Linked DNA regions of Homo sapiens: region 2 is linked to region 1. The links are contacts of gene promoters, found by promoter capture Hi-C in human tissues and cell types (Jung and others, 2019). All regions are on one chromosome and are shown on one strand. Each heading gives the region's core, a stretch centred on a gene start or on the middle of the fragment in contact. The rest is flanking DNA. Distances are from core to core; before and after follow the strand shown. Region 1 has its middle 21 kb from the start of CTRB2. Region 2 holds the start of ADAT1 (adenosine deaminase tRNA specific 1).

Region 1 (2,793 bases), core at 195-2,694:
AGATGGCAAGAACCCACTTTGACCTCTTCTTTATTTATTTTTTGAGATGGAGTTTCACTTTTATTGCCCGGGCTGGAGTTTCACTCTTATTGCCCAGGCTGGAGTTCAGTGGCATGATCCTGGCTCACTGTTCCCTCCACCTCCTGGGTTCAGGCGATTCTCGTGCCTCAGCCTCCTGAGTAGCTGGGATTAAGGTGCAAGCCACCACACCCGGGTAATTTTTGTGTTTTTGTAGAGATAGGGTTTTACCATGTTGACCAGGCTGGTGTCAAACTCCTGACCTCAGGTGATCCACCCGCCTTGGCCTCCCAAAGTGCTGGGATTACAGGCGTGAGCCACCGCCCCCGGCTGACCCCTTATTTCATCTCTAGACCCAACCAATCAGCACACCCCACTCCCTGACCCCCTACCCACCAAATTATCCTTAAAAAACCCGAGTCTCCGAATTTTCAGGGAGACTGATTTGAGTAATAAAACTCCGGTCTTGGTCAGCCAGTTCTGCATGAATTAAACTCTTTCTCTATTACAATTGCCCTGTCTTGATAAATTGGCTCTATCTGGGCAGTGGGCAAGGAGAACATGTCAGGCAGTTATACTTCCTGGTTTTTGTCTAAGTTTATAACATACTTCCATATGTATATACATATTCTATAAAAAATGCTATACATAATATCTTGTAACATTCTTTCATTCAAAATTAGAAAATTAGAATTTTGTATAGAACAGACTGTATAATGAACACCCATACACTCTTCATCTAGATTAGCCAATTGTATGTTGTCACATCTTCCTTCCTCCATCTCATTTCTCCCCCTCCGTGTGTATGTGTATTTATGTGTATGTGTCCCTTGATAATCCATGAGGAACTGGTTCCAGGACCTCCTGCAGATACCAAAATCCAAAAGCTAAAGTCCCTGATATAAAATGGTATAGTATTTGTGATCTATGCACACCCTCTAGTATACCTTAAATCATCCCTACTGCTTACAATACCTAATACAATTTAAATGCTCTATAGTCATTATATTTAGGGAATAATGACAAAAGGTCTATGTGTGTTCAATACACATGCAACCATCCATTTTTTTCTTTGTTCCCTGAATATTCAACCCAAGGTTGGCTGAATCCTCAGATGCAGAATCCATGGATACAGAAAGCCAACTGTCTGTGTGTGTATACATACATTTTTGGCAACTTGCTTTTAAAACTCTATCAAACATTTTTCCAGGTCAACACAATTAGTCTGACTACTTTCACTCTTAGGAGCTCTATGGTATCTACCGTATGTAAGGAACCATATGGTATTCAAATATTCCTCATATGACCTCGTGGCAAGGATCAAGAAGGAGCCTCAAGTGCTCCAAGTCAGACCCACCTCCCCAGGCTTCCTCATTTCTATTAGCAGGAGTGAAGAAGGGCCCAGAACTCTGGGTGCTCTTGGCAAGATGCCTACCCTTTCCTCCTCCCAAGACTCCAGCTTCTCCACCATTTTCTGAGACTATCAGGTCTGATCTCATTAAAGCTTTTGTCCTTATTGGCTCAGTTATAAGAGGCTCAGGATTCCTGGGTCACCCCCTGCCTGATCCCACTCTAAACTTCCTCCACTTACATCCCTTTCTGAGTCCATCTCTTGCTTCTCCCCAACTTCTAGAGATCTTCCTCTGTGCCCTCTGGAACTCACCACAGAGGTTAGGGCAGAATTCCCTATGTCTTTTTTTCTTTGAGATGGAGTCTTGGGCTGGGCGTGGTGGCTCATGCCTGTAATCCCAGCACTTTGAGAGGCTGAGGCGGGTGGATCACGAGGTCAGGAGTTCAAGAACAGACTGAACAACATGGTGAAACCCCGTCTCTACTAAAAATACAAAAATTAGCCGGACGTGGTGGTGCATGCCTGTAGTTCCAGCTACTTGGGAGGCTGAGGCAGAAGAATCGCTTGAACCCGGGAGGCGGAGGTTGCAATGAGCCGAAATTGTACCACTGCACTCCAGCCTAGGGGACAGAGCAAGACTCTGTCTAAAAAAAAAAAAAAAAAAAAAAAAGAGAGAGAGAGATGGAGTCTTGCTCTGTCCCCTAGGCTGGAGTGCGGTGGTGCAATCTCGGCTCATTGCAGCCTCCGCCTCCCAGGTTCTAGTGATTCTCCTGCCTCAGCCTCCCCAGTAGCTGAGGCTATAAGCATGCACCACCACTCCTGACTAATTTTTGTATTTTTTTTTAGTAGAGACAGAGTTTCACTGTGTTGGCCAGGCTGGTATCGAACTCCTGACCTCAACTGATGGACCAGCCTCGGCCTTCCAAAGTGTTAGGATTATAGGCGTGAGCCACCGTGCCCGGCCAGAATTTCCTATGTATTAATGAACATTCCCTATACTTTTCTACTTCACCCTTTAACACTGGTCCTGGGGGTGGGAAGATGTCCTTCTCGCTGCTTCCAGACCATTCTCCTTTCATCTTCTCTGACACCCCATGGCATGGATGCTCAGGCCATCAGACCGTACCACGTGATACTTAAAGCAGTCATCTTCTGATCCCTGGATCTCTTAAATTTTAGTTCCCACTCTAACACTACCATCTGAATTGATAATTTTAATGCTTATGTAGATTTAATACTTGGCTTTTCAGTTTCTTCATCTCCACTTTTCCAATGAGCCTGTACTCCTCCCTCCTTCAGCCAGTTATTCTCGGACACATTAATCTTGCTACTAGTAATAGCAACCTGTTTGTAATGTTTCATGCATTCCTCACTCAACCAGATTTTCTCTAGTACCCTAACAATCCTACCCCATGGAAACATAG
Region 2 (2,793 bases), core at 133-2,632, 440 kb before region 1:
ATTACTTATTCCCGGCAATCCAAAGGTTTTTAGACCTGTTCTGCCCACTACACTGTAGTAGTACTGTACTACAGTAGCCAGTAGCCACATGTGACTATCCAGCATCTGAAATGTGGCTGATCCAAATTGGGATGTATTCTAAGTGTAACACACACCAGATTTCTTAAACTTCGCATTAAAAACAGAACAGAACATAAGTATTTTTTAAAATATTGAGACTCGGCAGCCAGGTGCGGTGGCTCACGCCTGTAATCCAGCACTTTGGGAGGCCGAGGCGGGCAGATCACGAGGTCAGGAGATCGAGACCATCCTGGCTAACATGGTGAAACCCCGTATCTACTAAAAATACAAAAATTAGCCTGACGTGGTGGCAGGCACCTGTAGTCCCAGCTACTCGCGAGGCTGAGGCAGGAGAATGGCGTGAACCTGGGAGGCGGAGCTTGCAGTGAGCAGAGATTGCGCCACTGCACTCCAGCCTGGGTGACAGAGCGAGACTCCGTCTCAAAAAAAAAAAAAAAAAAAAAAAAAATATATATATATATATATATGAGACAGACAGACCGACCCCGGGCATCGTGACTCACGCCTGTAATCCCAGCACTCTGGGAGGTTGAGGCGGGCGGATCACTTGAGGTCAGGAGTTCGAGACCAGCCTGGTAACATGGCGAAACCCCGTCTCTACTAAAAATAACAAAAATGAGCCGGGTGTGATGGCGGGCGCCTGTAATCCCAGCTACTTGGGAGGCTGAGGCAGGAGAATCGCTTGAAGCCAGGAGACGGAGGTTGCAGTGCGCCGAAATTGCGCCGCTTCCAGCCTGGGCGACAAAGCGAGACTCCATCTCAAAAAATTTTTTGATTATATGTTGAAATAATACTATTTGGGATGTATGGGTTAAATAAAATATATATGATTGTTTCTATTTTGACTTTTAATGAGGCTACTGGAAATTTTTAAATTACGTATATGGTTCGAATTATATATCTATTGGACAGTGATGTTACAGATAGAAATACAGCATAGTCAGGAGAATCGCTTGAACCGGGAGGCGAAGGTTGCAGTGAGCCGAGATCGCGCCTCTACACTCCAGCCTGAGCAACAGAGCAAGACTCCGTCTCAAAAAAAAAAAAGAAAAAGAAAAAAATTCAGCCGAGTGCTGCAAGATACGTCATTCTAGTTGAAGGAATATCTAAGCCAACAAGCGGCTCCCATCATCCGGTTTCACGCCTCTCTAAGACGCAGCCAGGGCTGCGGGACTTGAAGCGCGGGAATCTCGGCCCTGGCACCGACTCCCCGGAAAAACTACAGGGCCCGGCATGCACTGCGCGCCTCTGGGAGCGGGAGCCGAAAGGAACCGGCGCTTTGTGACGTCACGTCCGCCTTACCGGCGGATTAAGCTCGCTTTCTTCTAGGCGCGTTTCCTGAAGGTGGGAGGGGAGCGTCCGCGAGGCGCTGGGGCGACGGGGCAGGTTTATCCGGGCTAACTTTGCCGAGTCTGTTTTTGAGGGAAGAGGTTGTGAGGATCGTATCTTCCGGGACGCGTTTCACGTGGGAAGGCGCTCCACGCCTGGAACTGTCAGCAGCCGGCGCCTGAAGAGCTCCTGGCGCGGGGCCTCTGGCCTGGCAGCCGCAGGACCCAATGGATCAGGCGCTCACGCTGTTCTCACTGCATGGCTTCAGTGCCTTGCCTGGCACCTCCTATCCTGTAACTGGCCGACTCGGGGTCCCACCCAGGCTTCTCCAGCGGCCGGGAAGGGGCTCTGCTTCCGGAAGTGTTTAGGAAGGGAGCCAGCGTAAACCAGAGTCCCTTCCTCCAAGCATCGCTGAAGCCTTTTCTCCCCTGGCAGCCGACTTCCTTTTCTTTGGAAAGGACGTCAGTTTTTTTAGCTTGTTGAAACTGTTCAGAGATGCGGTCTTGTGGGCAAATAAATGCCTGTTTAGCTGAGCTGTTATTTTCAGCTAAGAAGTTCTTCAAGTTTTCAAGATCTAGGAGGGGGTGTAGGCTCGAATTATAATGGACCCAGTGTAGCAAAACATTTATTCATTTAAACAATTGTGCATGCTCATTCAGACGCACTACCTGAGTGAGATGATGCCGTTCTGGGCTGCTTCATCTTAAAGAGAGTCACTGTTTCTTCTGGCAACTTCTACCTGCCTTGCCTATCGAGGTTTGTGAATTGCACCTCTGGTTTAATTTCAGGTCGATGGCCAGGTGGTCTTCATAAACTATACTGCCTTGTGATGCCTCCCTAGAAATGAGAGGTGAGTCCCTTCCAAACGAGGATTCTAGGATCTCATGCTTTCTTTTCTTGACAAGGCTTGCCCTGGCCCTCTGACTTTCAAGTCACAGGGTCTCACTTCCTGCAGATTTTTGTTTTAAATCACTGTGGTCTGATTTACCAGTAGCATTCACTACAGTAGCGAGCCTGCACGTTGCGCTGCAGGGGATTCATAACAATACCATCTTTCAAAAGCTGCATGCACTGGAGCTCAGGAAAGCCTTTTTTGTTTTTTTGAGAGGGAGTCTCGCTCTGTCACCCAGCCTGGAGTGCAGTGGCACAATCTCGGCTCATTGCGACCTCCGCCTCCCGGGTTCAAGCGATTCTCCTGCCTCAGCCTCCCGAGTAGCTGGGACTACAGGCACGCGCCATCACGCCCGGCTAATTTTTTTGTATTTTCAGTAGAGACAGGGTTTCACCACGTTGGCCAGGCTGGCCTCGAACTCCTGACCTCAGGTGAGCCACCGCGCCCGGCCTTCAGTTTGGTTTTACAGTGCTTAGCTATGTCTATCACAA

The links. Contacts are between HindIII fragments. The study calls those that stand out against the background at their distance.
Region 2: the fragment with the promoter of ADAT1 here is called in contact with a fragment that was not itself captured in region 1 in 1 of the 25 tissues and cell types used here (hippocampus).

What each region holds. Positions count from the first base shown.
Region 1 is chr16:75,184,855-75,187,647 of GRCh38, reverse strand. No RefSeq gene overlaps it. Among named protein-coding and RNA genes, the nearest start is that of CTRB2, 21 kb to the left of the region's middle. The HindIII fragment of the contact is 9,756 bases long and covers 1-2,793 here.
Region 2 is chr16:75,621,870-75,624,662 of GRCh38, reverse strand. ADAT1 (adenosine deaminase tRNA specific 1) reads left to right here and starts at 1,382. Exons shown (of 10, transcript NM_001324445.2): 1 at 1,382-2,260. RefSeq lists enhancers at 1,069-1,588, 1,468-1,707, 1,589-2,108, 2,109-2,628, 2,629-2,793. The HindIII fragment of the contact is 9,595 bases long and covers 1-2,793 here.